7 separate regions of the Homo sapiens genome follow, and regions 1, 2, 3, 4, 5 and 6 are each linked to region 7. Evidence: promoter capture Hi-C in 16 types of primary human blood cells and fetal thymus (Javierre and others, 2016). All regions are on one chromosome and are shown on one strand. Each heading gives the region's core, a stretch centred on a gene start or on the middle of the fragment in contact. The rest is flanking DNA. Distances are from core to core; before and after follow the strand shown.

The links. Contacts are between HindIII fragments. The CHiCAGO score rates a contact against its expected background, and 5 or more counts as called.
Region 1: a contact is called between a fragment that was not itself captured here and the fragment with the promoter of RUSC1 in region 7, in 4 of 17 cell types (M1 macrophages, M0 macrophages, M2 macrophages and 1 more). The highest score is 12.0, in M1 macrophages.
Region 2: a fragment that was not itself captured here is called in contact with the fragment with the promoter of RUSC1 in region 7 in 1 of 17 cell types (M2 macrophages); the score reaches 7.8 in M2 macrophages.
Region 3: a contact is called between a fragment that was not itself captured here and the fragment with the promoter of RUSC1 in region 7, in 3 of 17 cell types (M2 macrophages, monocytes and M1 macrophages). The highest score is 6.9, in M2 macrophages.
Region 4: a contact is called between a fragment that was not itself captured here and the fragment with the promoter of RUSC1 in region 7, in 2 of 17 cell types (M2 macrophages and endothelial precursors). The highest score is 5.9, in M2 macrophages.
Region 5: a contact is called between a fragment that was not itself captured here and the fragment with the promoter of RUSC1 in region 7, in 2 of 17 cell types (M2 macrophages and M0 macrophages). The highest score is 8.0, in M2 macrophages.
Region 6: a contact is called between the fragment with the promoter of YY1AP1 here and the fragment with the promoter of RUSC1 in region 7, in 10 of 17 cell types (M1 macrophages, naive B cells, M0 macrophages and 7 more). The highest score is 8.4, in M1 macrophages.

Annotation. Positions count from the first base shown.
Region 1 is chr1:155,814,679-155,817,400 of GRCh38, reverse strand. It overlaps GON4L (gon-4 like), which reads left to right. Exons shown (of 32, transcript NM_001282860.2): 7 at 1,139-1,189; 8 at 1,501-1,596. Among named protein-coding and RNA genes, the nearest start is that of GON4L, 41 kb to the left of the region's middle. The HindIII fragment of the contact is 1,410 bases long and covers 692-2,101 here.
Region 2 is chr1:155,780,250-155,782,949 of GRCh38, reverse strand. The region is part of intron 14 of GON4L (gon-4 like); the gene reads left to right. Among named protein-coding and RNA genes, the nearest start is that of GON4L, 76 kb to the left of the region's middle. The HindIII fragment of the contact is 9,234 bases long and covers 1-2,700 here.
Region 3 is chr1:155,756,935-155,759,634 of GRCh38, reverse strand. It overlaps GON4L (gon-4 like), which reads left to right. Exons shown (of 32, transcript NM_001282860.2): 25 at 1,601-1,744; 26 at 2,312-2,455; 27 at 2,558-2,677. Among named protein-coding and RNA genes, the nearest start is that of DAP3, 69 kb to the right of the region's middle. The HindIII fragment of the contact is 8,033 bases long and covers 1-2,700 here.
Region 4 is chr1:155,703,477-155,706,176 of GRCh38, reverse strand. All of the region lies in intron 1 of DAP3 (death associated protein 3), which reads right to left. Among named protein-coding and RNA genes, the nearest start is that of DAP3, 16 kb to the right of the region's middle. The HindIII fragment of the contact is 5,985 bases long and covers 1-2,700 here.
Region 5 is chr1:155,722,706-155,725,405 of GRCh38, reverse strand. It overlaps DAP3 (death associated protein 3), which reads right to left. Exons shown (of 13, transcript NM_004632.4): 5 at 1-24. Among named protein-coding and RNA genes, the nearest start is that of DAP3, 35 kb to the right of the region's middle. The HindIII fragment of the contact is 2,795 bases long and covers 8-2,700 here.
Region 6 is chr1:155,687,427-155,690,142 of GRCh38, reverse strand. It overlaps YY1AP1 (YY1 associated protein 1), which reads left to right and starts at 1,369. Exons shown (of 11, transcript NM_139119.3): 1 at 1,369-1,484; 2 at 1,942-2,072. It overlaps DAP3 (death associated protein 3), which reads right to left and starts at 1,052. Exons shown (of 13, transcript NM_004632.4): 1 at 969-1,052. It also overlaps the pseudogene LOC124904430. RefSeq lists enhancers at 904-953, 1,329-1,963 and a silencer at 1,444-1,493. The HindIII fragment of the contact is 12,603 bases long and covers 1-2,716 here.
Region 7 is chr1:155,319,550-155,322,249 of GRCh38, reverse strand. It overlaps RUSC1 (RUN and SH3 domain containing 1), which reads right to left and starts at 1,356. Exons shown (of 10, transcript NM_001105203.2): 1 at 1,259-1,356; 2 at 1-562. The coding sequence starts at 476. FDPS (farnesyl diphosphate synthase) reads right to left here. Exons shown (of 11, transcript NM_002004.4): 9 at 2,562-2,639; 10 at 2,322-2,456; 11 at 1,585-1,841. The coding sequence ends at 1,641. It overlaps RUSC1-AS1 (RUSC1 antisense RNA 1), which reads left to right. Exons shown (of 6, transcript NR_145424.1): 2 at 1-7; 3 at 555-625; 4 at 2,318-2,447. RefSeq lists an enhancer at 1-649 and a silencer at 1,265-1,414. The HindIII fragment of the contact is 14,544 bases long and covers 1-1,475 here.

The DNA of each region.
Region 1 (2,722 bases), core at 147-2,646, 500 kb before region 7:
TTGTTCATAAGGTGCTTTTGGTTGGGTTACAATTAAATGGTCAAGAAATTATACATCCTCAATGGCATTTTATCAGCAGTATATAAGAACTTTAAAAAAGTTCTTTAGGCTAGATGTGGTGGCTCACACCTATAATCCCAGTGCTTTGAGAGGCTAAGGTGGGAGGATTGTTTGAGCCCAGGATTTTGAGACCAGCCTGGGAAACCTAATGAGACTCCATCTCTACAAAAAATTTAAAAAATTAGTGAGGCCTGGTGAGGAGGCATGCCTGTAGTCCTAGCTAATTAGTAGGCTGAGGCAGGAGGATCGCTTGAGCTCAGGAATTTGAGGCTGCAGTGAGCTCTGATTGTGCTGCTGCTCTAGCCTAGGCAACAGGGCAAGATCCTGTCTCAAAACAAAAACAAAAACAAGAAAAACTTTCCCCCTAGCTCTTATAAAAATTTTCAAACATTCAAAAAGTTGAAAGATTGTTACAATGAATCTAAATTCCAAGAGTAATATTTTGCCATATTTGCTTTATATCTCTCTGTGTTGTTTTTTCCTGTACTATTGGAAAAATAAGTGTGGACAACATGAAACTTTGCCCTAAATGCCCTGGTAAAAGCTTTTTTTTTTTTTTTTTTTTTTAAGAAAAAAAAAAGCCCATAGGCAGAGCAGGGCTACCCCATAGGCAGAATAGTCCATAAAAGCTTTTCATGGCTGGCTTTTTGGAGTTGTACTTATGGTGGATTCATGTAACTGATTACAAAAATATATTGCTGTTAAAAGACTACTGTAACCAAAATATCTTAGGTTTGTGTAGTTTAATAGTTTATAAATAGTTGTCACATCTGTTGTTCCATGTAAACCGCAGCTGTGATATGAACAAGGTAGACATTGTTTTCTTCATTTATAGAAAGAAGTGAGGCTTACCAGGTGTAAGGCAGAAATGCTAATGACAGTAATAGATTCTTTCCTGGTTTCTTCTTTCTAACTCTGACAAATAATTGAGAGTATACCCTCAGGGATAATCAACACCTCTAGATCACTGCAGTTACTTGTTAAGTATATGGCTGTTAGTGATGGTACAGAGGAAGTAAACATGAAAAACAATTATTTCAGTTAAGATAACTTAATTATTTATATTCTTTGTTGGTAGGTAATTCCAACATGGAATATTTCACCAATTAAGAAGGCCAATGAAATTAAGGTAAACTTGGAAGAAATAATTGTTATTCTTTTCCAGAAAGACTTCATCGGTTTTGAAACTTAAGTACTTCCTCTTTAACTTTTCTTGATCAATCTTTGTTTTAATTCCAGCTTTGTTTTTTTCCATTCTATTACTCTTAGGTTTGTATCTCATGGAATTCACTTTAACCTCTGCCTCGTGTTATTTGCTTTAGCTGTACATTATGCTCTTAGGATTTTTTTTTTTTCTGCCCTGCTTCTTCCCCTTATTTTCCAAATACGTATGATTTGTGTTTCCCATTACTTCATTTCTTTCTAATTGTACTAATGTAGCCTCCTCAGTTTGTGGATATCCACCTTGAAGAAGATGATTCCTCAGATGAAGAATACCAGCCGGATGATGAAGAAGAAGATGAAACTGCTGAAGAGGTCAGTGAATGTTAGTTGGTAATATTTGTCTTAATAGAGCAGGGTATACTTTGCTTCCTTAGTAATGTCACTTGTAGAGAGGATTGAGACATGGTTCTTTTTTCAGCTCATTTCTGTGCTTTAAGCTGTTTTTCTGCCCTTTATACTCCCTTAATTTTAGAATTTGTTGTATTATGAAATACAGCATAGAAACGTGCATAGAATAAAAATGTATAGCTTTGGTTATTATAATGCAAATCCTCATGAAACTCATAGCAAAGTCAAGAAATATATCATTACTAGGACAACCCCTGTATACCCTCCCCAGTCACAATCACCTCCCTCCCCCTAAAAATAACCACTACCCTGCCTTTTAGTAATTATTTCTTTGCTTTTCTTTATAGTTGTATCACCTCAATATGTATCTCTACACACTGTAGTTCAATTGTTACTGTTTTGAACTTTATATAAATGGACCCATGTTTATATGTTTTGTTCCTAGCTTTTTAAAATTCAACATTAAGCTTTTGAGATTCATTTATACTATTGGTTTTAGCTATACTTCGTTCCCTTTCATTGCTGTGTTAATATGTTCTTTGACTTGTTTCTTAATGTGTTCTTTGAATTGTTTTGTAAAAGGATTTTAGACCAAGGCCTTACACTTTGTAATGCAGATTAGGATAGTGATCTGATCCCTGTCCCCACCTTTAGGATTTTTTTTTTGAGTCTCCTCTGTTGCCCATGGAGTGCAGTGTGCGATGTTGGCTCACTGCCATCTCCATCTCCCGGGTTCAGGCAAGTCTCCTGCCTCAGCCTCCTGAGTAGCTGGAATTAACAGGCGTGCGCTACCATGCCTGGCTAATTTTTGTATTTTTAGTAGAGATGGGGTTTCGCCATGTTGGCCAGGCTGGTCTCGGACTTCTGACCTCAAGTGATCCACCCGCCTCGGCCTTCCAAAGTGCTGGGATTACAGGCATAAGACACTGACTGCACCTGGCCTTTAAGTTTCTATTTAAATTTTATTTTCTGTTACTGTAACTAGTTGAGTGATGGATTTTATTTATTTATTTATTTATTTTTGAGACAGAGTCTCGCTCTGCCACCCAGGCTGGAGTGCAGTGGCGTGATCTCGGCTCACTGCAACCTC
Region 2 (2,700 bases), core at 92-2,591, 460 kb before region 7:
CAGTGGCTCATGCCTGTAATCCCTGCACTTTGGGAGGCGGAGGCAGGGGGATCACCTCAGGTTAGGAGTCGAGACCAGCCTGGCCAACATGGTGAAACCCCATCTCTACTAAAAATACAAAAATTAGCCAGGCATGGTGGCGGGTGTGTGTAATCCCAGCTACTCAGGAGGCTGAGGCAGGATACTCACTTGAACCCGGAAAGCGGAGGTTGCAGTGAGCTGAGATGACAGCCTGCTTGACAGAGAGAGACTCTGTCTCAAAAAAATAAAATAAAATAAAATAAATAAAATTTGTAAAGTATAGAAATAATTTAAAACTCTTGTTAGAATTCAGTTACCTTCTGGTATTCAGTAGAATACAGTCATATATCATCTCATGGTGATACATTCTGTGAAATGTTATCATTAAACGATTTCATCATTGTGTAGAAAGCACTTGGATAAACCTAGATGGTTTAGCCTACTGCATACCTAGGCTATACGGTATAACATATTGCTCCCAGGCCACAAACCTGTATAGCATGTTATTCTGCTGAATATTGTAGGCAGTTGTAACACAATGGTAAGTACATATGTATGTAAACATAGAAAAGGTACAGTAATCTTATGGAGCCATCTCTGAATATGTGGTTCATTATTGACTGAAACATTATGTGGCACATGACTGTACTTGGGCAGCTGCTGCTTCTCTTTCAGTTGCAAATGCAAACCTGTTATAATCTTTGACTAAATAAAGCATCCTGGATTCTGTAAGTCCATAGATAGTAAAAACTTCTTAAAACACAATAAAGAAGAGAGAGGAAAAAAAAGAACAAAACAAAAACCCTGGGAAAGTGAGTTATCTGTGCTTCCCTTGTCAGTTATCCAAGTAATACTTATTAAAACTAGGTGCAAGGCCACGTGTGGTGACTCACACCTGTAATCTCAGCACTTTGGGAGGCTAAGGCAGGCAGATCACTTTAGGTCAGGAGTTCAGACCAGCCTGGTCAACATGGTGAAACCCCATCTCTACTAAAAATACAAAAATTAGCTGGGTGTGGTGGCACACGCCTGTAATCCCAGCTACTTGGGAGGCTGAGGCAGGAGAAACACTTGAACCCTGGAGGCGGAGGTTGCACTGAGCTGAGATTGTGCCACTGTACTCCAGCCTGGGCAACAGAGTGAAACTGTCTCTCAAAAAATAATAATAGGCCGGGTGCGGTGGCTCACGCCAGTAATCCCAGCATTTTGGGAGGCCAAGGCAGGCGGATCACAAGGTCAGGAGTTTGAGACCAGCCTGACCAACATGGTGAAACCCCGTCTCTACTAAAAATAAAAAAATTAGCCAGGCATGGTAGCACTCGCCTGTAATCCCAGCTACTCAGGAGGCTGAGGCAGGAGAATCGCTTGAACCCAGGACGCAGAAGTTGCAATGAGCCAAGATCATGCCACTGCACTCCATCCTGAGAGAGAGAAAAAGACTCCATCTCAAAAAATAATAATAATAATAATAATAATAATTATAGATCAGGCGTGGTGGCTGGCACCTGTAATCCCAGCACTTTGGGATGCCGAAGCAGGCATATCACCTGAGGTCAGGAGTTCGAGACCAGCTTGGCCAACATGGCGAAACCTTGTCTCTACTAAAAATGCAAAAAAAATTAGTCGGACGTGTTGGCAGGTGCCTGTAATCCCCGCTACTTGGGAGGCTGAGGAAGGAGAATTGCTTGAACCTGGGAGGCAGAGGTTGCAGTGAGCCGAGACCACTCCATTGCACTCCAGCCTGGGCAATAGGAACGAAACTCCATCTCAAAAAAAAATAATAGTAATAATAATAATAATAATAAAAAATACAACTACGTGCAGGCTATGTTTTCATTACCTACTTTTTTATGCTTCTGGTCTTCTGTTCCTTCAGTGGTAGTAGTGCAGGTGATCAGGTTTTCAGTTCTCAGAAGATTGCATAAGACAGTCCCACAGGCTTTAGGTTTTTACCCTGTGCTGCCCAAACCCACAGTAAATACTATAAAAGAAAGAATGATTTTTATCCCCAATAGATAAATGATAACTTTTAAAAATTAACTATTGAAAACACTTATTTATCTATTGCTGTAATATTGGAGATTACTTGAAATATGATAACCTGCTTGTTGTAACTACATCAGCAGGTCTTATCCTGATTGCATAGGGTATCAGCACGTGCTTAATCACTTAAGTATCTTTTTCTCCTTTTACTTCAGAACTGTCATGCTGGGTTTTTCAGTTTTTGCTTCAGCCCTGGAAACAGTCTCTCAGGAGGGTAGGGGTGGGAAGTTAGGGTTAGGAACCTTAGAAGAGGAATTTATTTTATTTATTTATTTATTTTATTTTATTTTTTTGAAATGGAGTCTTGCTCTATCGCCCAGGCTGGAGTGCAGTGGCGCGATCTCGGCTCACTGCAACCTCTGCCTCCCGGGTTCAAGTGATTCTCCTGCCTCAGCCTCCCAAGTAGCTGGGATTACAGGCACGCATCACCACGGCCAGCTAATTTTCGTATTTTTTCATAGAGACAGGGTTTCGCCATGTTAGCCAGGCTAGTCTCGAACCACTGACCTAAAGTGATCCACCTGCCTTGGCCTCCCAAATTGCTGGCATTACTGGCTTGAGCCACCACGCCCGACTGTTTCTTGACCTTTTAATAATTGTCATTCTGACTGGCAAGGCTTGCTTTCTTAACAAGTC
Region 3 (2,700 bases), core at 201-2,700, 440 kb before region 7:
TGGTATTATGAGGTTCCAATCAGTGTATACGTGAACAAAAAAAAAAATTTTTTTTTTTTTGAGATGGAGTTTCACTCTTGTTGCCCAGGCTGGAGTGCAGTGGCGTGATCTCGGCTCACTGCAACCTCCGCCTCCTGGGTTCAAGCGATTTTCCTGCCTCAGCCTCCCGAGTAGCCGGGATTACAGGCATGCGCCACCACCACGCCTGGCTAATTTTGTATTTTTAGTAAAGACGGGGTTTCTCCATGTTGGTCAGGCTGGTCTCGAACTCCAGACCTCAGGTGATCTGCCCACCTCGACCTCCCAAATTGCTGGGATTACAGGTGTGAGCCACCACACTTGGCCAAAAAATTTTTTTAAAGAGATAATGTCAGCCAGGTATGGTGGCTCACACCTGTTATCCCAGCACTTTGGGAGGCCAGCCTGGACAACATAGCAAGACCCCATCTTTACATAAAATAAAAAAATTAACTAACTGGGTGTGGTGGTGCACACCTTTGGTCCCAGCTATTTGGGTGGCTGAGGTGGGAGGACCACTTGAGCCTGAGAGGTTGAGGCTTCACTCAGCCATGATTGCTCCACTACACTCCAGTTTGGGTGACAAGAGCAAGACCTTGTCTCAAAAACAAAAAAGAGAGAGACAATGGCCAGACACAGTGGCTGGCATCTGTAATCCCAGCACTTTGGGAGGCTAAGGTGGGAGGATCCCTTGTAGCCAGGAGTTTTGTTGTTGTTGTTTTATTGTTGTTGTTTTTTGAGGCAAAGTCTGACTCTGTCACCCAGGCTGGAGTGCAGTGGTGTGATCTCTGCTTACTGCAACCTCTGCCTCCCAGGTTCAAGTGATTCTCCTGCCTCAGCCTTCCGGGTAGCAGGGATTACAGGCATGCATGACCGCACCTATCTAATTTATGTATTTTTAGTAGAGATGGGGTTTCACCATGTTGGTCAGGCTGGTCTCGAACTCTTGACCTCAGGTGATTTGCCTACCTCGGCTTCCCGAAGTGCTGGGATTACAGGCATCAGCCACCACAGCTGGCCTGTAGACAGGAGTTTGAGATGAGCCTGGACAACACAGGCCCCTGGGATCCTCCTGCCTCAGCCTCCCAAGTAGCTCAAGCTACAGGTGTACACCACGGCCCCTGCCTAATTTTTAAATTTTTTTGTAGAGACATAGTCTCAGTATGTTGCTGTTCTTGAACTCCTGGCCTTAAGCGATCCTCCTGCCTTGGCCTCCCAACATGGGATTACAGCTATGAGCCACCTTGTGCAGCCTGAAAGTTCTTTGTAATATAAACTCTAAAGTATCATATGAATTTTGGTGGCTGATTTCACAATCCTTAAAACAGCAAACAACTTGAAATATATACATCTCTTGAAGCTGTTGCTCACATCTTAATTGCTTTGGGTGGCTACCCACCAGTGGCCCAAGGTGGATGGAGGTTAGGGTTTTAAATTAGATCTCAATAGTTGTAAACTAGAATTTTAAACCAGGGTTCTGTCATCTCTTGTGTCCTAGTCCACTAGTTCTTATCCTTAGAACCCTCAAGTCCTGCTCTAGCTGTATCATGACTCCTCTTTTGCCCACTTTCCACTCTGGTAGTTTGAGGAGCAGCAGGCTTTTGAGAAGAGCCGCAAGTTCCTTCGGCAGCTGGAGATTTGCTTTGCAGAGAACCCCTCACACCACCAGAAGATTATCAAGGTCCTCCAAGGCTGTGCAGACTGCCTTCCCCAGGAGATCACCGAGGTATTCTTTCCTGTCCTGCTTTCTTCCTGTTGTCTTCCGGGCCTTAGGCCTTTCCCTTGTCTCTTTCCCCAACCTACTCCATACCTTTTTGCCTCTGGAGGCTCATGGGCTTCCTGGAGGAGATGAAAAAGGCAAGGACTTTTCAGGCTCACCCAAAGCATAAAGCACTGGGATAGGGAGGGATTGCTACCTGAAACCGGAGCCTGTCTGATCTTCACAGGCTCAGGAATGCCATGGATGTGCTGGAAGGGATGTTCAGCGAAGGAGGTTCTGGGACCTGGGAGGGGCCTTACCTCCTTGCTCTGCTTGGAATAGTGCCCTAGCTGGAGATCAGTAGGGTGGAGTGGAGAGTGGAATCATTAGGAATCAAATCCAGTATTAGTACCCTTCCCCTATAGGCAGCTAAGGAGGAAGAGAAAGTTTTAGTATTCTTTGTTACCAGGCAGAGTCTCTGTGTGTTTCCCAGTTGACTGGGAAAGCAGAACATGGAAGTATGTGGGATTGATTGGGAAGGGCAGCCTAGAGAGGCTCTGGAGACTTCCTCTTTCCCTCTGTGACTCTCCTCAGCTCAAGACACAGATGTGGCAGCTCCTCAAGGGCCACGACCACCTGCAGGATGAGTTTTCTATCTTCTTTGACCACTTGCGCCCAGCAGCTAGCCGGATGGGTGACTTTGAAGAGATCAATTGGACTGAGGAAAAGGAGTATGAGGTATAGGACCTAAGGCTGCTGTAGCCTTATGAAGGGGGAAGGCCACACGTGGGAGGGATATTGGCCTGGTGTCTGTGCTCAGCAGCACCAACTCCTTCTCAGTTTGATGGCTTTGAAGAAGTGGCCCTGCCTGATGTGGAAGAAGAGGAGGAGCCTCCCAAGATACCCACAGCCTCAAAGAACAAGAGGAAAAAAGAGATCGGGGTCCAAAATCATGATAAGGTATTTTCTTTGTTTATTTGTTT
Region 4 (2,700 bases), core at 132-2,631, 380 kb before region 7:
AAAAAATTAATTAGTTTGCCAGGGTGGTGCAGGACTGTAGTCGTAGCTACTTAGGAGGCTGAGGCAAAAGGCTCACTTGAGGCCAGGTGTTAAAGAGCTATGATCATGCCACTGTACTCCAGCCTGCATGATACACTCAGATCTGGTCTAAATAAATAGATAAATAAATGAAAAGAGGCCAGGTGCAGTGGTTCATACCTGTGATCCTAGTATTTTGGGAGGCCGAGATGGATGGACTGCCTGAGCTCAGGAGTTCAAGACCAGCCTGGACAATATGGTGAAACCCTATCTCTACTAAAATATAAAAAATAAGCCTGGCATGGTGGTGCATGTCTGTTTTCCCAGCTACTCAGGAGGCTGAGGCGGGAGAATCGCTTGAACCCAGGAGGCAGAGGTTGCAGTGAGCTGAGATTGCGCCATTGCATGCCAGCCTGGGTGACAGAGCAAGACTCCATCTCAAAAAATAAATAAATAAATAAATAATATTTAAAAATAAATAAAAAGAGAGAGAGAATAACATAAATTCCTTTCATTTTATTTCCTTTCTGTTTTTTTTTTCTTTCTTTTTTTTTTTGAGACAGGGTCTCGCTCCATTGCCCAGGATGGGGTGCAATGGCAAGATCACAGCACACTGTAGCCTCAAACTCTTGGGTTCAAGTGATCCGCCTGCCTCAGCCTTTCAAGTAGCTGGGAATATAGGTGCCATTGCCTGGCATATTAAAAAAAAAATTTTTTTTTTTTTGGGTAGACATAACCCTTGCTATGGTGCCCAGGATGGTCTTGAACTCCTGGGCTCAAGTGATCCTCCTGCCTCAGCCTCCCAAAGTGCTGGGATTACAGGTGTGAGCCACCATGCTCTGCTTCAACTTTATCACATTTGTTATTTTTCTTGAGACAGGGTCTTGCTCTGTCATCCAAGCTGGAATACAGTGGCACAATCACAGCTCACTGCAGCCTCGAACTCCCCTGCTTAAGTGATCTTCCCACCTCAGCCTCCCAAGTAGCTGGAATTACAGGCACGTGCCACTGTGCCTGGCTTTTTTATTTTGTAGAGACAGAGTCTCATTATGTTGCCAGCGATGGTCTTGAACTCCTGGACTCAAGTGATCCTCCCACCTCAGCCTCTCGAAGTGCTGGGATTACAGGTATGAGCCATCGCACTTGGCCTTAAATATACTGGATTCGTTTGTTTATTTCTGAGATGGAATATTGCTCTGTCGCCCAGGCTGGAGTGCAGTGGCATGATCTCGGCTCACTGCAACATCCACTTCCCGAGTTCAAACAGTTCTCCTGCCTCAGCCTCCCAAGTACCTGGGACTACAGGCGCCCGCCACCACGCCAGCTTATTTTTGTATTTTTAGTAGATACAGGGTTTCGCCATGTTGGCTAGGCTGTTCTCAAAATTTTGACCTTAAGTGATCCTCCCGCCTCAGCCCCCCAAAGTATTGGGATTACAAGCATAAGCCACCTGCCCAGCCATACTATTTAATGAAGACGCCAAAGCACTCCTAAACTCAGTCATTCAAGAAGCATATGACATGCTTCCACACGCCCACACTACACAGAGTCTATAGTGGTGAATAAGACTGGGATGGTCTCTACTGGCCTGCCTGCCTTTTCACTTGTGGGATTTCAGGGCTCCTTTTCTAGAGTGCAATGTCACTCCAATAGTATTTGACCTGCCCCACTGTGCTCCCCAGATCTTCTCAATGCTCCCCGGCACAACCACTACTGGAAGAGCTGTGGACTAGGAAGCAGGCTGGGTACTGGAGAGGAAGGAGTGTGTGACATGGTCCAGATGCACTTCTTTCCATAGGCGTGCCTGTGGACACTGGAGCTATTATTTTGCCTATGTTATAGACACTATGAGAAATGACGGTCAGAACGTGTAATCAGCTTCCGTTCTAGGACACTATCATCTTGAACCCAAATTAAAATAAATGATCTACCAGCATCCAGACTTAAACATTTTCTCCACTGAAGCCTTGCTTAAAATTCTTCAGTATTTCCTCACTACTTGATTATTTTGTGAGATCGGGTCTCAGTCTGTTGCCCAGGCTGGAGTGCAGTGGCACAATCTAGGCTCACTGCAGCCCCTAACTCCTAGGATCAAGTAATCCTCCTTTCTCAGCCTCCTAAGTAACTGGGACTACAGGCATGTGCAACCACCTGGTGGCTAATTTTTTATTTTTACAGAGATGGGGTCTGGCTATGTTGCCTGGGCTGATCTCTAACTCCTGGCCTCAAGTAATCTTCCTGCCCTAGCCTCGCAAAGTGCTGAGATTGCAGGCGCGAGCCACTATGCCTGGCCCTCACTAGTTTTCAAGTTAAAAAAGTCTAGGTCAGGCGCAGTGGCTCACACCTGTAATCCCAGCACTCTGGGATGCCAACGTGGGTGGATCACGAGGTCAGAAGATCGAGACCATCCTGGCTAACACGGTGAAACCCCATCTCTACTAAAAATACAAAAAATTAGCTGGGTGTGGTGGCGGGCGCCTGTAGTCCCAGATACTCAGGAGGCTGAGGCAGGAGAATTGCTTGAGCCCGGGAGGCAGAGGTTGCCGTGAGCCAAGTTCATGCCACTGCACTCCAGTCTGGGCGACAGAGCAAGACCCTGTCTTAAGAAAAAACTTGTCAAGCTGATTTGGTTTGGCTGTGTCCTCACCCAAATCTCATCTTGAATTTCAGCTCCCATAATTC
Region 5 (2,700 bases), core at 156-2,655, 400 kb before region 7:
GCAAGCTTCACTGAATGTCTTCACCTGATAAAGTAGGAAAGAAGGAAAGAGTGGGTGGGTGTGGAAGGAGTGGGTGGGGGGTGGTATATATACTCTGCCTAAAGTGGCAACCAAGACCATCAGATTGCATGCCTCTAATTTACTCAGTTAGGAGAAGCTGGGTTGGTACTGAGTTTGAAAATCTATCCATATAACTTAGCTAAAAACTGAAATACATTATTCCGCACTAAGTAACATGATAGTCAGCTTTTGATTATTCCTATTACTGAAGCATATATTCTATCTCAGCTGAAATCTATAAATAATTGATATATCTCATAACAAAATTATGTATACCACTTAGGGCCACTGTAAATATGGAAAGCATATAGAAAAATGCTTAAAATTTCTGACACAAGTTAATAATTCAATAAACATTAACTCTTTAAATTTTTTTTCTTTTTTTTTTTTTGAGACGGAGTTTCACTCTTGTTGCCCAGGCTGGAGTGCAATGGCACGATCTCGGCTCACCACAACCTCTGCCTCCCAGTTCAAGTGATTCTCCTGCCTCAGCCTCCCGAGTAGCTGGGATTACAGGCACCCACCACCATGCCCGGCTATTTTGTATTTTTAGTACAGAAGGAGTTTCTCCATGTTGGTCAGGCTGGTCTCAAACTCCCGACCTCAGGTGACACCCCCGTCTTGGCCTCCCAAAGTGCAGGGATTACAGGCGTGAGCCACTGCACCTGGCCTAAAATTTATTTTTAGTTGATTTTTTTTTTTTTTCTTTTTTTGAGACAGAGTCTCACTCTGTCACCCAGGCTAGAGTGCAGTGGTGTGATCTCGGCTCACTGCAACCTCCGCCTCCGGGGTTCAAGCAATTCTTCTGCCTCAGTCTCCTCAGTAGCTGGGATTACAGGTGCCACCACCATGCCAGGCTGATTTTTGTAATTTTAGTAGAGACAGGCTTTCACCATGTTGGTCAGGCTGGTCTCGAACTCCTGACCTCATGATCCACCCGTCTCAGCCTCCCAAGGTGCTGGGATTATAGGCGTGAGCCACCGCACCTGGCCTAAAATTTATTTTTATTACTTTAACCATTTAGACTTTTTTCTCTAGAACTAAATACATGGCGGCTCAGGAGCAGGTGTGACCAGCTGCCTCACAACTCTAAGGCCATCCATACCTCATACCTCCAGCATACTAACCTTTCAGAGTTTAATTCCCCTTTTGCTACCAGAATACTTTGGTGGGAAATTTGGGAAGTACTAATGTGTGTGAAACTGATTTGCAAAGAAAATATTAAAATATGTCTACTAATAAGAATATCTAACAAATACTGTTTGTAAGTATAACTAAAATAGTGTTAATTTTTTTTTTTTTTTTTTGAGACAGAGTCTCGCTCTGTCGCACAGGCTGGAGTGCAGTGACACGATCTCAGCTCACTGCAACCTCCGCCTCCCGGGTTCAAGCGATTCTCCTGCTTCAGCCTCACAAGTAGCTGTGACTACAGGCGTGTGCCACCACGCCCAGCTAATTTTTGTATTTTTAGTAGAGATGGAGTTTCACCATGTTGGCCAGGCTCATCTTGAACTCCTGGCCTTAAGTAATCTGCCCACCTCAGCTTCCCAAAGTGCTGGAATTACAGGCGTGAGCCATTGTACCCAGCCAGTGTTGATATTTTTAAAAGAAATCCTAACAAAACAATTGAATTGGTGTAGGATTTGACAGGCAATTCCAAACTTAATGGAAGGCTCAATGTTCAAAAAAACATGATAAAGGTATTAAAACAAATGTTGGCTGGGCGTGGTGGCTCATCCCTGTAATCCCAGCACTTTGGGAGGCCAAGACAGGTGGATCACCTGAGGTTAGGAGTTGGAGACCAGCCTGGCCAATATGGCAAATCCCCATGTCTACTAAAAATATAAAAATTAGCCAGGCGTGGTGGCGAGCACCTGTAATCCCAGCTCTTTGGGAGGCTGAGGCAGGAGAATCACTTGAACCCAGGAGGCGTAGGTTGCAGTGAGCTGAGATCGCATCACTGCATTCCAGCCTGGGCGACAAAAGTGAAACTCCATTTCAAAAAAAAGTCACATCAGGGCTGGGAGCTGTGGCTCACACCTGTAATCCCAGCACTTTGAGATGCCAATACAGGAGGATCGCTTGAGCCCAGGAGGTCAGAGATGTAGAGTGTGCTGTGGGCTGTGGTCACGCCACTGTACTCCAGCCTGGTTGTCAGAGTGAGACCCTGTCTCTATAATTAAAATAATAGTAATAAAATAAAGTCAGCTACCCTGGGCACACTGTCCGTGAGTTAGGTCTGCTCCAAAAGGAGCAGTATTTAAAAAAAAAAAAGTCATATTAGGCAGTATGACAATGCTAATATCCACAAACAATGGTGAGGAAGTAGGCCTTCATGTAAATGAAAATTATGAAAAGAACCTGTAAGTTCTTACAGAGCATTGTTGGTTAAGCCAGTCTGAAAACAACTTCAAATAGTTAATTAAAGATAGAACCTCACAGCTCTGAAGCTGAATAAACATTGTACTGTGTATGTCTTGGAACAGTTTAAAGTGCCACTGCAGATGATTTCTTCAACAAAATTTTTTTTAATTAAAATTGTTTTTTGGAGACAGGGTCTCACTCTGTTGTCTGAGTTGGAGTGCCGTGGCACTATCGTAGCTCACTGCAGCCTGAACTCCTGGGCTCAAGCCATCCTCC
Region 6 (2,716 bases), core at 120-2,619, 370 kb before region 7:
TATATCCTCATTAATCTAAATCAAGTCATTGATACAACTATTTAACAAGACGCCCGGCCTGCTTTGTTTTATTAACGACTTGGAGGGACAGAACACTACCCATTACACCCACAAACGTTATCGACATCAACAGAACTGTAAATGACAACACGGCAATACTCTGCACCTTCCCTATGCCTAGGAGCTAATTCCACTTTACATATATTATTATTTCGTGTGTGTGTGTGTGTGTGTGACGGAGTCTCGCTTTGTCGCCAGGCTGGAGTGCAGTGGCGCGATCTCGGCTCACTGCAACTTCCGCCGCCCGGGTTCAAGCAATTCTCCTGCCTCAGCCTCCCGAGTAGCTGGGGCTACAGGCGCCCGCCACCACGGCCGGCTAATATTTGTATTTTTAGTAGAGACGGGGTTTCACCATGTTGGCCAGGATTGTCTCGATCTCTTCACCTTGTCATCCACCTGCCTCGGCCTCCCAAAGTGCTGGGATTACAGGCGTGAGCCACCGCGCCCAGCCCTATCTTATTATTTCACACACCAACCCTGGAGGCATGTTTGGAGTTGCCTAATTTTTATGTACACTTTTTGATAAGGAACTAACAAAAATAACTTGCTGAAGACAAGGGAAACTGAGTCCAGAACTGAATGAGAAGCACATGGTTTCTTCATCCTCCATCACCAGGCTGTCTAACGAGGCTGAAGTACCATCCATGAGTAAGTGCGTCAAGGGCAAACAAACATCATCGCATATGGACAGTGGTGTGAAATTCGAGAAATCCGAGGAGGGTTAACAACAACAAAAAGCACACCACCACGCCGAACTTCCTCGGGTCCCAGGTTGGCAACTCAACGCCCGGGAGGAATCCCCCCCGGAGGCGCGCCGGTCTACCGGCCTCACTCCCTACCTCCTGGAGGTCCGGAGTCCCGCTCCTTTCCCTCAGCGGTACAATACCCGTGTCGGTCCATTCCCTCACCGTGAGTCGAGGACTAGTTCTCCAGACTAGGCGACCGACACACGCTGCCTGGGGCCGGCTCCAAAGCGCCCGTCCTGAGACTGCAAAAAAGGGTCGGGTCATCCGGCAGGAAACGACTCAACGCGCAGCCGCCGCGGCCTCCAACCACCGGCCGGCAGAGGGGCGCTAGGCCGCCCTCGATCCCCTCGCCGCGGTCCCATGGAGGAGGAGGCGAGCCGCAGCGCCGCGGCGACGAACCCAGGGAGGTAGGTTGTCATGGGACTCGGCCGGCCACCCTGGCAATTCCAGTCAAACGGCAAGCCAGACTCGCTTTGCCGGTCCCTTCCTCTCCTGCCCCTGCAGCCGCCAGGAATGGAACAGTCCCGCGGTGGGGACTGTGGGAGGCGCACGCGCGAGGAGTGTAGGGTGGGGGTGCTGGCGGCGGCTGCTTTGGCGGCGGTTGGTGGCCGTGCGGGCGGGGAGGGAGGGGGAGGAGAGAAGAGGAGGTGGAGAAGGCTTGGGCTCGCGCCGCTGAAGGTACGCGTGAGGGCCTGCGCTGGAGCCGGCTTGACAGGGTCTGAGGGGGAGTGGAGAACTGGGCGAGGAGGTTCCCGTGGGTGAGCGCGTACGGGATGGCTGGCTCGCAGGACGGCCGAAGGTGGTGGTTGGTGGGAGCAGCCAGCGACGAGCCCGTAGACACTCGTACGCGTGCGGGCTGACGTGCGCGCTACATGGCCGGAGTCGGGCGAAGCGGGGGACCGTGGGGAAGAACGCGAGGAGGGAGGAGTGGGAGGTTGGGGGTGTCGCTAGGCGCCCTTAGCTCCCTCCCTCTGGAGGAGCTGCCGCGGCCACTCTGCTGCCGCCGCTGCCGCCGCCATTTTGGGTTCGCTTTGCGAGGGGAAACGATCCCAGTGTCGGTTGCGGGATCCGCCTCCTCTCAGTTTGCCCCTTTAGCCCTCCACCTTTCCCTTCTCCTCTCTCGCATTTCCGCCAGTCGGCTTACCCGCTGGCCGCCTCCTGACAAGCGGGAGGGATCCGCGGTGGACCCAGGGAAGCGGAGGAGCCTGGCGGCCACCCCCTCTTCCTCACTTCCCTGTACTCTCATCGCTCTCGGCCTCCGACACGGTGAGTAGAACGATTTGGGCCGGCATTCGGGCCTAAGCACTCTCTCAGCGATTGAATCCTGGGCTTTCTGGGAGCCACTGTCATCTCCCGGACCTGGACCTCTGGGAGAGCAGTGGTGAAGATGGGGGAGGGGAGAGCAGGGAGGGGGATCCTGAGCCTACCGGGAAGTCCCTCCAGGCGGGGTGAAGGGGTGTCCCTGACAGGCAGACTCCCGGAGGGGGCTGGGAAGTAAGCGAGTGGAGGCGGAGTCGGCTGTGCCCCTGACAGGTTAGTTTGTGTTTGTAGGCATGATCGGAGCCTCCCCCATAGTCCAGTTTGTGTGTGTTTAATTAAGGGATAAGAGTGGTCGAGGACACGATCTTGAGAGGGGATTTTACCTGTGTGACAAGGTCTGTGGTGTCCCTGCCGCGTTGAACGGTATGTGGGAACGACAGGATGATCTCAGTGTTGTACGTTTAATAAATGTCACTGGTTAGTTTGTACATGGAAAGAGATGTTTTTGGTCTAGCAGACAGATGGTCTGTTGGTGTGTAGCGGCTGTGTTGGTGTGTGTATGTGAGGATGGCAAGTGTTTCCGTAAGAGTTTGCCTTTATTTGTGTAAGTGTAATGGAGTTCCCCTTATAAGTTAGCTTATTTCTTGAAT
Region 7 (2,700 bases), core at 107-2,606:
CTGTCCGGTGAGCAGGTGCCAGGGCCTGCTGAAGCCAGTGGGGAGCCCTGCTCCAGGGGGATGATACTGGGCTGAGGGTGGGCATCCTCATCACCAGGGAGGTCCCGCAAGTAGACTGAGACAGGGGACTCATCGGGGCTAAGATCTGAGCAGGAGCTGAGTGAGGAGGAGCAGCCTGGGTCTGAGGGAGAGGCAGCCCCCTCTTCCTCCTGTGACGGGTCCTGCCGGTTTTCTAGGCCCGGACCGTGCTCCTGGCAGCACCGGCAGGGCACAGCTGGGCTGTTGGAATTGGCGTCCACCAGGGTGCCACTGCAGGGGCCCCTGCTCTCCTTGCCCCCAGTGTCTCCTGGAGGAGGGGGTGTGCTCAAAGGCCCCTCCTGTAGCTCAGGACGGCGGGACAAGTGCAGGCCCAGGGAGACGTGCTGGAGGTGGATGTGGTTGAGGTTGCAGAGTAAAGCTCTCTGAGGGGACAGCATGATGCTAGCGGCGATGGGATGGCTTCTAGAGAACCAGAAGGGTAGGGTCTCTCACATCCACCTACCTGGCAACCACAGGTGCAGACCTAGAAGACAGAGGTGGTGAAGCCCGGCCAGTGAGGACAAGAGCTGCGGGGAAGGACACCGAGGTGACTTGACGGCAGCAGCAGGCCTGAAGGCTCTGGCTGCTTTGGAAGATATTTCAATGAGATGCAAATCGCAATCGACTGACCATTAGTTTCCACTGCAGTGTTTGCAGATGGAGTCGAATGTAACCCCCCGGGAATGGAGCCGGGAGGGTCAGAGAACGCGGCTGCGCTCTGGATCTCCGAAGGGGGGCGGGGGCCTGGAAGAGGTCCGGGCCCAGAATGGACCTCCAGGTCCCTGCTGCCGCAATCTGGCCCTGCCCTCCAGCCTACCCCTTACTCCCAGAGGAAGGGACCCAGGGAGACCCACCCAGATGCCCTGAAAGGAGGTGGAGGATGGGGGTGGGGCAATACGCAGAGTTTGTCTGGTGAATGCAGGAAAGGGGTGGGGGCTGGAGAGGAAAAGGATGGAGCAGCCGTCAGCTTGTCAACTCCGCATCTGCTGGCTGCCTCGGCCGGGCTCCAGCCTGCGCCCTCGCCCCTCGGAACAGCGGTATGTCCATTCTCTCCGCATTCGTCTCCATCGTTCAGCCACCACCGCACCCTTTCTCTATTCATTTCTCCTGCTCCCTTGTCCTGCCCCGCCCCTCGTGCCCAGGTCCATCGGTCTACACCCATGGGCCGAGCCCTCCTCACCAGGGTCCTCCTGGAACCGCTCCGGCCTTGGGCTTGTCCGCGGCTCCCACGGTCCCCGCCCGGCGGGGCACAGAGCGGGAGGGGAGGGGCACTAGCACAACCTACCCTGCGCTGCGCAGCTGCACCCCTTCGCGCATGGGCGTGGCGTAGCTCAGACCCGCCCCCAGCGTTTAGCGTCTTTTGTCACCCACCTAGAGGGTTTGATATATCCTAAGCTTTTGGCCCCTGGGTCCTGGTTCCGTGCAGCGAGTCCTCCCAGCACCCCACCCTGCACATTCTGGAAAGAGCCAGACTCTGGCTGGGCCGAGCAAGAACAGAACCACAAGAAGGTTACACGATTATTTATTGAGAGCCTCCTCTCCCCGCCCTTGCAATCTCTAGGTCACTTTCTCCGCTTGTAGATTTTGCGCGCAAGCCCCAGAAAGACGGCTGGGGGCAGGGGTGCTGCGTACTGTTCAATGAGAGCCATAATGTGGCTGTAACTGTCTTCCTCATATTGCAAGAACACTGCTGGCAGATCCAGCTCCTCATATAGCGCCTTCACCCGGGCCACTTTCTCAGCCTCCTTCTGCCCGTAATTTTCCTGGAAGAGGTTGAAAGACAGGAAAACGGGCTTGGCCTTCCCCAGAGCCTCCAGGACCCCTCCACTCCCCTCATTCACATATTCCAGAACATCTCCAAAGCCACCCACTCCTTTCCTCCCTCCAATTTTCAAGTGTCTCTACGTAGCTAAAATCCCAAGCTTCCCTTCCCTATCCCAAATATTGCCTCATACCAGGCATCCTCTACTCCAGGGTTTCTCCACCTTGGCACTATTGAAATTTGGGACCAGATAATCCTGTCTGGGGGAGCTGTTCTGTGTACTACATGTTTGGCAACATCTTTGGCTCCTGCCAACTAGATGTCTGTACCACATGCACACACACAGAGTTGTAATGACAATGGCAAAAAATGTCTGCTGACATTGCCAAATGTCCCCTCGGGAGGAAAACTGCCTCTAGTTGAGAACCACTGCTCTATCCCTTTCCACCAACTCAGGGACCCACCACCCTCTCTCAGGCACCTTCAGGATCTGGTACTGTTCTGGAGTGGCCCGTTGCAGACACTGAACCACCAGCCAGCTGCATTTGTTGTCCTGGATGTCAGTGCCAATTTTGCCGGTCACACTGGGGTCCCCAAAGAGGTCAAGGTAATCATCCTGGGCAGGGAGGGGGAGGGCAGCAAAAGAGGAAGGATGAGGTTCCTGGGCAGAGGAGGAGTGAAGCTGGTGCCTGTTCTCTGCTACTGCCTCCTGCCTTCTTACCTGAATCTGAAAGAACTCCCCCATCTCCAGCAGGATCTTCTTGGCATTGGCGTGCTCCTTCTCGCCATCAATTCCTGCCTGCAGGGAAAGGGGGGTTAATAAGCCAAACCCCAGGGGTGCCGGCATCTTCCTGGCTGCT